2 separate regions of the Homo sapiens genome follow, and region 2 is linked to region 1. The links are contacts of gene promoters, found by promoter capture Hi-C in blood cells and fetal thymus (Javierre and others, 2016). All regions are on one chromosome and are shown on one strand. Each heading gives the region's core, a stretch centred on a gene start or on the middle of the fragment in contact. The rest is flanking DNA. Distances are from core to core; before and after follow the strand shown. Region 1 holds the start of YIPF3 (Yip1 domain family member 3). Region 2 holds the start of CNPY3 (canopy FGF signaling regulator 3).

Region 1 (4,658 bases), core at 336-2,835:
TATCTCACTTCTGATCTCATTTCAAGCATGCAGTCTTCTAGCCTGCTAGATTTCTCCACATGCAGAAAACAATGCATCATCATTCCCGTTCCCCAGACCCATTTCTCCTCTCAGTAAATGATACCACAATGCATCAAAGCAGTTCCCAAGCCAAAAAGTCATTTTATGCTACCCCCACAGCCTTTACCAAAGCAATCATAAATTTACCTTCTATTCTACCTTTGCTCTATTTCTACCATCAGTCTTAGTTCATGTCTTCAACCTCAGCTTCCCTTACAACAGATCTGCCTGCTCCATATGATCCTCCTCAAACTCATTCCCTCCCAGCCACCAAGGTTGCAAATCTCATCATGTCTGCTTAAGAACTATTCAATCTCCCTATCATCAACAGTGCCCAAGACACACTTCAACCTTGCCTACCACTCATGCCAGAACTACTTGGACATGCCCGGAGCACACTTCACACAAGCCATAATTTTTTTTCAAGCATTAACCTTTTTCATTGTTCATACTTTATTCCTTGTATCAACAGGTTAAAAAAGTAAAATTTTCCCAAGCACTGATTTACAGATCATGTTTATAAGCTGCACGCAAAGGTCAGTTGCCTAAACGGTAACATTCAGTAATCTATTTAAATGCAATTTTAACCCTTATTTTAAGCTAAGTGAAACAATACAAAAGACTAAATACACACAAAACCTGTATATCCTGAACTTCACTGACTTGAAACAAACCCTTCATAATTTAACTCCTGTTCTTTTTTACTTACCATTCAAGGCTCAATTGAGATGTACCCTCCTCTTGAAATGTTAAGTACCTCTCCGCCCCTCTTCCTGGTCTCAGCGTAATGCTCCCCACCCCAACCCTGCCGTCTTCATCGCTATCAACCACCTTCACCATATTACACTAGATTCACTGTTTATACACACCATTCCTCAACAAGACTGAACATCTTTGCAGAACTGGGTAGAAACCGTGTCTAATTTGGCCTGTAAACGGAGCGTCTAGCACATTGCTCAACAAACTTACAAACGGAGCGACCCCCAAGAGCAGCTTCTGAGACAGACACAGGCTGCTCAGACCACAAGGTCTGGCCTTCATAACCCTCCCCAGACAACTCCGGCCCCACTTACCTTCTCGAAGCGGTCCTGGTCCCAGGCATCATCATAACCGGAATAGTTACCGGGAAAGTCAGTAGTATGGACCTAGAGCAAAGGGACGAATTTGTCCACGAAGGGACAGTGAGCCCACAGCTATCCCCACGCCAATCCCAAGACCCATCCCTGTTCCGCTCTCATTCCTCCCGCCCGAGCTCAAGGCCACAAGGCTTACATTGCGAACCCCAAACTCCCCCAGAACCACGCGGCTCCGCATTTCCTCCACCGCCTGAGAAGCCGCCATCTTCAATCTCTCCACGAGACTAGAGGTTCTATCTCGCGCGTGCGTCCTAGTAGCCCTGCTCCGTCTCCGTGGCAACGCACCGCCTCCTGGAATCTTAAATATCGCGAGATTTTTCCCCGCCCCCGTCCACGTCCCCAGCTTCCGGAAGTTGCTTTTGTCCAAACATCCGGGCTTCTCCTTTTTGTGTTCCGGCCGATCCCACCTCTCCTCGACCCTGGACGTCTACCTTCCGGAGGCCCACATCTTGCCCACTCCGCGCGCGGGGCTAGCGCGGGTTTCAGCGACGGGAGCCCTCAAGGGACATGGCAACTACAGCGGCGCCGGCGGGCGGCGCCCGAAATGGAGCTGGCCCGGAATGGGGAGGGTTCGAAGAAAACATCCAGGTAATGGCCCCAAGGCACCAGCTGCCAGCAGCCGGAGGGCCGGCGATGTCCAGAAGTGTCTTGGGGATTCCCCCTCTGGGCCTGGAAGTCCGCTCCATTTACAAAACTCTCTTCTTTGGGTCTTCGTGCACACTAAAGTCAGTGGGATTAACATTGACCTGAAAGGGCCAGACTACTACTCCAGCCTGAGGATCTCGGGTTTCAGGGCCCGCCCGAGGCATTAGGAAGAAGGTATTCTTGGAACAAGTTAGGAGGTTGGTCGGGGTAAGGCATGGAGTGGGGTTGGGTGGGATTCACTGGCATTCGCTGAAAACATACTATGTGTATAGTTTTGTTTGGGGCTTAGGAAAGAAGGAAATGGGCACTTTTTCAGCCTTTTAGTCTTTGATAGGTAACATAGGAGAAAGACATGAATGGAAGACTAGTAGGTTTCCCAGGCTAGAAAAGATAGCCAAAGCTAGAAACCAGGCGTTCTGAGAGCATATGAGGGGGAATGGAGTGGCATGATCTGTAGTGATTCCAAGCCGTATCCTCAGCAGTGGAAGAACAAAGCCCTAAACCCTGGGATGAGCAGAGGACTTAATGGATGGAACAGAAAAGTCCTGCACTCTAGGAGCCATTGTCTTCACAGGGCGGAGGCTCAGCTGTGATTGACATGGAGAACATGGATGATACCTCAGGCTCTAGCTTCGAGGATATGGGTGAGCTGCATCAGCGCCTGCGCGAGGAAGAAGTAGACGCTGATGCAGCTGATGCAGCTGCTGCTGAAGAGGAGGATGGAGAGTTCCTGGGCATGAAGGGCTTTAAGGGACAGCTGAGCCGGCAGGTGGCAGATCAGGTAAGCAAGATTGAATCCTCTGCAGGTAGAAAAGTAGACCTAGGTATGTCCCGTGTTCTGGAATTGGTGTTGGTGATGTTCGCCCCAGGTTGTCCAGTTAGAACCATGTAGAAATCAAACGGAAAATAGGCAACAGGATCTAGAACCAACAGTACCACAATACCTATGCCCATCTTCCTTACTTCAGATGTGGCAGGCTGGGAAAAGACAAGCCTCCAGGGCCTTCAGCTTGTACGCCAACATCGACATCCTCAGACCCTACTTTGATGTGGAGCCTGCTCAGGTGCGAAGCAGGTGAGGAGCCTTCTCTTGAAGAAGCTTCCCTCCTAACACCTAGACCTTCATGCACACTACAGTCAGATTTCAAGCCCTGGGCTCTGATGGGCTCCCCGTCTTCATGACCCCATCACCTCTCATCACTGCACCTGTCACTGAAACAAGTAATAATAGCACACCATCTTCCTCTTCTTTTCCATCTAACTGACTACTCATCTTCCCTCAAAACCTACCTCAGATGTCACTTCCTCTGTTCCACATTCCTCAATCCCATCCCCAGTTTGTTCTCTCCTGGTGTTCCTATAGAACTCTGTGCTTGCCAGCCGGGCATGGTGGCTCACGCCTGGAATCCCAGCACTTTGGGAGGCCGAGGCGGGCGGATCACAAGGTCAGGAGATCGAGACCATCCTGGCTAACACGGTGAAACCCTGTCTCTACTAAAAATGCAAAAAAAATTAGACAGGCGGGTGCCCGTAGTCCCAGCTACTCGGGAGGCTGAGGCAGGAGAATGGCATGAACCTGGGAGGCGGAGGCGGAGCTTGCAGTGAGCCGAGATCGTGCCACTGCACTTCAGCCTGAGCAACAAAGTGAGACTCCATCTCAAAAAAAAAAAAAAAAGAACTCTGCGCTTGCCTCTAATAGACAGCACTTCACCACTGCTATCCTTTCTTATTCCTGGAATCTTCCTTCCAGAGACCAACAGCATCTCAAAAGCAGGCTCTGTCTTGTTTATCTTTTTATTCCCAGCACCAGAACAGTCTCAGAATCAAAATATCAGGGCATAGTTTTTGAGTGACTTTTCAAGAACTAGATTTAATCCTGGCTTGGTTTTTTTGTTCATCCTTTAATCAATGCTAATCAAATACCCAGGACCACTCAGCAGGTATTTATTAAGCATTTGCTCTGTGCCAGACGCTAAACTAATCGTATCTGGTTCAGTGGTGAAGATAGATGGGAGCCTTGCTCTTGAGTGCAGTTACAGTACAGTACTCATTCTATGATGGGGCACACAGGAGGGATATGTGAGCCAAAGCAGGTTGGTGGGTGGGACAGGACAAGTTTCCCAGAGGAAGTAAAACCTAGCTAAAATCCCAGGTATGATTAGGAGCTAGCCACTTGAGAGAAGAGGGAAGTGACTAAATTTTCATACCACTTCACATATATTTTTCAAGAAAATACTCGAAAGTGCCTGGAGGCACAGATAAGCAGGAAGAGGAGGCGTTTTTACTATTCCCTCAGTAACACCTTTCATTCTAAACTTTCCATCTAGCCGGCTAGACTTTTCCCAGGGCTTCCTCATTATAACCCTGAATTCTGGGTACTCTCTGCTGAGGTCTGCCTGTCTTGTCATGTCTTTGTTTTGTTTTGTTTTGAGATGGAGTCGCACTCTGTCACCCAGGCTGGAGTGCAGTGGCGCGATCTCGGTTCACTGCAACCTCCGCTTCCCGGGTTCAGGCAATTCTCCTGCCTCAGCCTCCTGAGTAGCTGGGACTACAGGCGCCCGCCACCATGCCCAGCTAATTTTTTGTATTTTTCGTAGAGACAGGGTTTCACCATATTGGCCAGGCTGGCCTCAAACTCCTGACCTTGTGATCTGCCTGCCTCGGCCTCCCAAAGTGCTGGGATTACAGGCGTGAGCCACCGCGCCCAGCCTGCCTGTCTTTTCAAGGGGAGGGGGCAGACGGATACATGGTCGGGCCCTCCTTCAAGGCCCAGTAGGGCTGAGTTCTCCATATAGCTGCTGTTTCAGTCAGCTAAGT
Region 2 (4,310 bases), core at 676-3,175, 590 kb after region 1:
AAGACTCCGTCTCAAAAAAAAAAAAAAGGCCAGGCACGGTGGCTCATGCCTGTAATCCCAATACTTTGTAAGGCCGAGGAGGGTGGGTCACTGGAGGTTGCGGTGAGCCAAGATCGCGCCACTGCATTCCAGCCTGGGCAATAAGAGCGAAACTCCATCTCAAAAAAAAAAAAAAAAGCTATCAGGACTAGAGGAAGAGCGAAAAGTGAAAGGGCGGCCAGGAGCAGAGGCTCACGCCTATAAGCCCAGCACTGTGGGAGCCCAAGGCAGGTGGATCACTTGAGGTCAGGAGTTCAAGACCAGCCTGACCAATATGATGAAATCCCATCTCTACTAAAAACACAAAAATTAGCTGGGCATGGTGGCATGCGCCTGTAATCCCAGCTACTCAGGAGGCTGAGACAGGAAAATCGTTTGAACCTAGGAGGCAGAGGTTGCAATAAGCCGAGATCTCGCCACTGCACTCCAGCCTGGGCAACAGAGCCAGACAGTCTCATAAAAAAAAAAAAGGAAAAAAAGAAAAGAATGTACGGGGGAAGGCACAGGCTTGAACTCATACTGGGTGCCCTACCAGTGAAGTCGGCTTATCTCTAAAGCATCCTTTTAATCTCTCTAATGGAAGGATTATGTGTCCGAAACTTACCCCAAACCCACTTTCCAGTGTTTAGGGAACATCTGGCCTGATGTAGGCTTTCAATTCAGATGAGAGATTCACAGCCAACTTTCTGGGGGCCCTGGGGTTACGGGGCTAGGAAGGCAGGCATGACTGTAAGGTCTGAGGAGAAAACTAAGGGACGGAGTTGAGGAAAAAGAAATAGGTCCTTTATAGTCCTGGCTCGCTGGTAGCTCCCTCTCTCTCTCTCTCTGTAGTTCCTCAACGCCTATGTCTTTGGGACTCACCTTTTCTCCAAAGTCCTAAAATCTTCTTTCAAGTTCCCCATAGGCTCTATTGTTCCCCCAAAGGGCTCCTCAGATCCAGATCCTCCTCCTCACACACACCCACAGTCTCCCATTTAATCATCTGTATTCTCAAAACATTTATTGAGTGCCTACCAGACACTGTGTGAATACGTATCTAAGACAAAAATTCCTGCCTTCGAGGAGTTGTTAGTGGGTGCAACAGACAACTACACAGATTGGGTTGCAGTGAGGGCAAAAGGGGAAAGTCTTAGGTTTTTTTCCCCCAAGATGAGTCATCTGGAGCTTTTCAGTTCCTCAAACTCGTTCTTAGCTTCTCAGCCGGCAGGCCTCTGCCTCTGTAGTTTCCTGAGTGGGCCCCTCTCTTTCCACTTCTCTTCATCCGGCTAACTCCTAATGCCTCTTCGTGCTTCCTGTATGAAGCCCTCTTTGACTCCCCTCTGCACACAGCCTTCGCCCACCCCCTCCCCCACTCCAGGCTAGACCAGATGCTCCTCGTCCGGCCCCCAAAAGGAAGCTCTGTACCTCCCCTATCATGGCATCTACTACTCTGAATTATCATTGCTTGTTTCTACCAATGTGTGAACTCCAGGGGTACCGGGACCAGATCTCTCGTCCGCCGCAGCGTCCCGGCGCAAGCCTGTTCAAGGAAGGAAGACACCCTGCAGAGCTCGGAACCTTGCAACCCCCGACGCTGCTCCGCAAGCACCACCGCTGGAGCCAGCCCCTCCGGCAGGATACGCCCCACGGGCCCCGCCTCCTCACCTTCGCATTTGCTGGGCAGGCGAACCCAGTCGTTCTCCTCAGCTCCGGCCTGGCTCGGGCCCAGCTCCGGGGCCGGCAGCAGCAGCAGCAGCAGCAGCAGCAAGGGAAGAAGCAGAAGACAGCGGGACGCGGGCTCAGGCATTGAATCCATGGCCCGGCCGGGCCCGGACCCTAAAGGACCGGGCGGTTCCTCCTCCCGCGGCGCGCGCGGAGCAGTTTCCCCTCGCCGCTTCCGGGACTGCACACGTGCCTCCGAGCAACCACGACAACAGCTAGCCTCCCGCCCGCCCTCCTCTCGCAGCCGCAGCCCGCCTTCAAAGCGGACCAAGGCCCGCGGACGGCGCAGCCAATAGGCTTTCTGGGGTTTGCTCTCTAGCTAATGGGAAGACTATCTTTTTACGCCCTTGGCCAGTAAGAGAGCAGATGGTGGCCTCAGCGACCTATGGCAAAGTCCTTTCCCACCCCCTAACGGAGGCTCTGGGAGAGAGAGGATGCAGGACCAAGACCCGAGAAGAAGCCTGCGTCTGGGCCTGGGTGGGACGGATTCAGGCGCGCAGGTGCTGGAAGATGTGGGGAAGGCCGTCTTCGCGGCTTTCTCCGCCTCCTCGAACGTCACTTCCCTCCTGGGGTCCTAATGCCGCAAGTCCTTACTGAACATCTGTTTTTAAATTTTATTATTGGTATTGTGGTTGTTATAGCCGGGCACTCTTGTAGGCGCTTAAGGTGCAAGCAGGACGACTCAAACTGTCCCCAGCCTTCACACTTTTTTAGTAGCCAGTAGATTTGTCCTAGTGAGAACTAGAACAAATGACTTCCTCTCTGAGCCTGTTTCTATTTGTATGACGACAAAGTGATCCTCCTAGCTGCTGTGGGAGCTTGCCTGTTGTTGGGAAGCTCAAATAGGTTAATAGAATTAAAGCTTATCGAGCAGATTGTAAAAAGTTCAGGCATTAATTTTCTTTTTGTATGTAATCCCAGCCCCTTTTACTGCCCTATTATTTATTTCTTGATTCTGAGCTCTCAGAAGGCAGAAATTTAGCCGATTAACGATTGTCTCTCCCTTCCGCTTCCCCAGCAACAACAGGGTGCCTGGCACAAGGAGATACTCAGTAAAACTCTCATCTGCTGTGTCATTAAGGGGAACACTTAATGGCTCACGCCTGTAATCCCAGCACTTTGGGAGGCCGAGGCGGAAGGATCACCTGAGCCCAGGAGTTGGAGACCAGCCTGGGCAACAGATTGAGACCCTGTCTCAACAAAGAAGAAGAAGAAGAAAAAGGCCAGGCGCCGTGGCTAATGTCTGTAATCCCAGCACTTTGGGAGGCCAAGAAGGGAGAACTGCTTGAGGCCAGGAGTTCGAGACCAGCCTGGTCAACATAGCGAGACACCCCCCCCATCTCAAAAATAAATAAATCAAAATAAAAAATAAAGAGGAGGCCGGGCTTGGTGGCTCACGCCTATAATTCCAGCACTTTGGAAGGCCGAGGTAGGTGGATCACGAGGTCAGGAGTTCAAGACCAGCCTGGCCAAGATGCTGAAACCCCATCTCTACTAAAGATACAAAAAGTTAGCCGGGCGTGGTGGCACACGCCTGTAATCCCAGCTACTCGGGAGGTGGAGGCAGGAGAATTGCTTGAACCTGGGAGATGGAGGTTGCAGTGAGCCGAGATCACGCCATTGCACTCCAGCCTGGGCGACAGGGCAAGACTCCATCTCAAAAATAATAAATGCCGGGCGCGATGGTTCATGCCTGTATTTCCAGCACTTTGGGAGGCCAAGGCGGGCAGATCACAAGGTCAGGAATTCGAGACCAGCCTGGCCAATATGGTGAAACCCTGTCTCTACTAAAAATACAAAAAAAAATAGCCGTGGTGGTGGGTGCCTGTAGTCCCAGCTACTTGGGAGGCTGAGGCGGGAGAATTGCTTGAACCCTGGAGGTGGAGGTTGCAGTGAGCCGAGATCGCGCCACTGCACTCCAGCCTGGCGACAGAGCGAGACTCCGTCTCAAAAAATAAAAATAAACAAATAAAAATAAAGAGGAGCACTCTTGGTCTTCTTTAGGCTGCCCCTGAACTCAGTGTCCTACAGACGCACACAGACCAAAGTTGCTTCTCTGGGAAGTTGTCTGCAAATTGGCCATAAAACCCTGTTCCCTGATACCTTCTTGTTTCCTTCCTAGAGGTTGGATATTTATGCTATTTTATGAAGACTTCAGAGCACTGAGGCCCAGGCCTTGCCACTTTCTGACTTTAGTTTCTTGTCCAAAACTGTGTTGGTAACAAAGCACTTTGGATAGGCAGGGGCTGTGGCATGTGGAATTCCACAGTGTACAAGATCAGGACACCCTCCTAAGGTCCTCCATGTTTTCTAGGCTTGATAAGACTTAGGTTGGCTCAAGCTGGGCACAGTGGCTCACACTTATAATTCCAGCACTTCGGGAGGCCAAGGCAGGCGGATCACTTGAGGTCAGAAGTTCAAGACCAGCCTGGCCAATGTGGTGAAACCCTGTCTCTACCAAAAAATACAAAAATGAGCCAGGCATGGTGGCGTGTGCCTGTAGTCCCAGCTACTTGAGAGGCTGAGGTGGGAGAATTGCTGGAACCTGGGAGACAGAGATTGCAGAGAGT

Evidence for each region. The method cuts DNA at HindIII sites, captures the fragments that hold promoters and counts their contacts. A CHiCAGO score of 5 or more calls a contact.
Region 2: a contact is called between the fragment with the promoter of CNPY3 here and the fragment with the promoter of YIPF3 in region 1, in 1 of 17 cell types (erythroblasts). The highest score is 5.1, in erythroblasts.

What each region holds. Positions count from the first base shown.
Region 1 is chr6:43,513,853-43,518,510 of GRCh38, reverse strand. It overlaps YIPF3 (Yip1 domain family member 3), which reads left to right and starts at 1,585. Exons shown (of 9, transcript NM_015388.4): 1 at 1,585-1,784; 2 at 2,416-2,622; 3 at 2,810-2,916. The coding sequence starts at 1,704. POLR1C (RNA polymerase I and III subunit C) reads right to left here and starts at 1,422. Exons shown (of 9, transcript NM_203290.4): 1 at 1,333-1,422; 2 at 1,134-1,205. The coding sequence starts at 1,401. RefSeq lists an enhancer at 1,296-1,845. The HindIII fragment of the contact is 5,758 bases long and covers 1-2,942 here.
Region 2 is chr6:42,927,095-42,931,404 of GRCh38, reverse strand. It overlaps CNPY3 (canopy FGF signaling regulator 3), which reads right to left and starts at 1,925. Exons shown (of 6, transcript NM_006586.5): 1 at 1,684-1,925. The coding sequence starts at 1,834. It overlaps CNPY3-GNMT (CNPY3-GNMT readthrough), which reads right to left and starts at 1,925. Exons shown (of 5, transcript NR_134892.2): 1 at 1,684-1,925. RefSeq lists enhancers at 1,207-1,316, 1,627-1,886, 1,529-2,030, 2,337-2,386, 2,397-2,446 and 1 more. The HindIII fragment of the contact is 20,502 bases long and covers 1-2,604 here.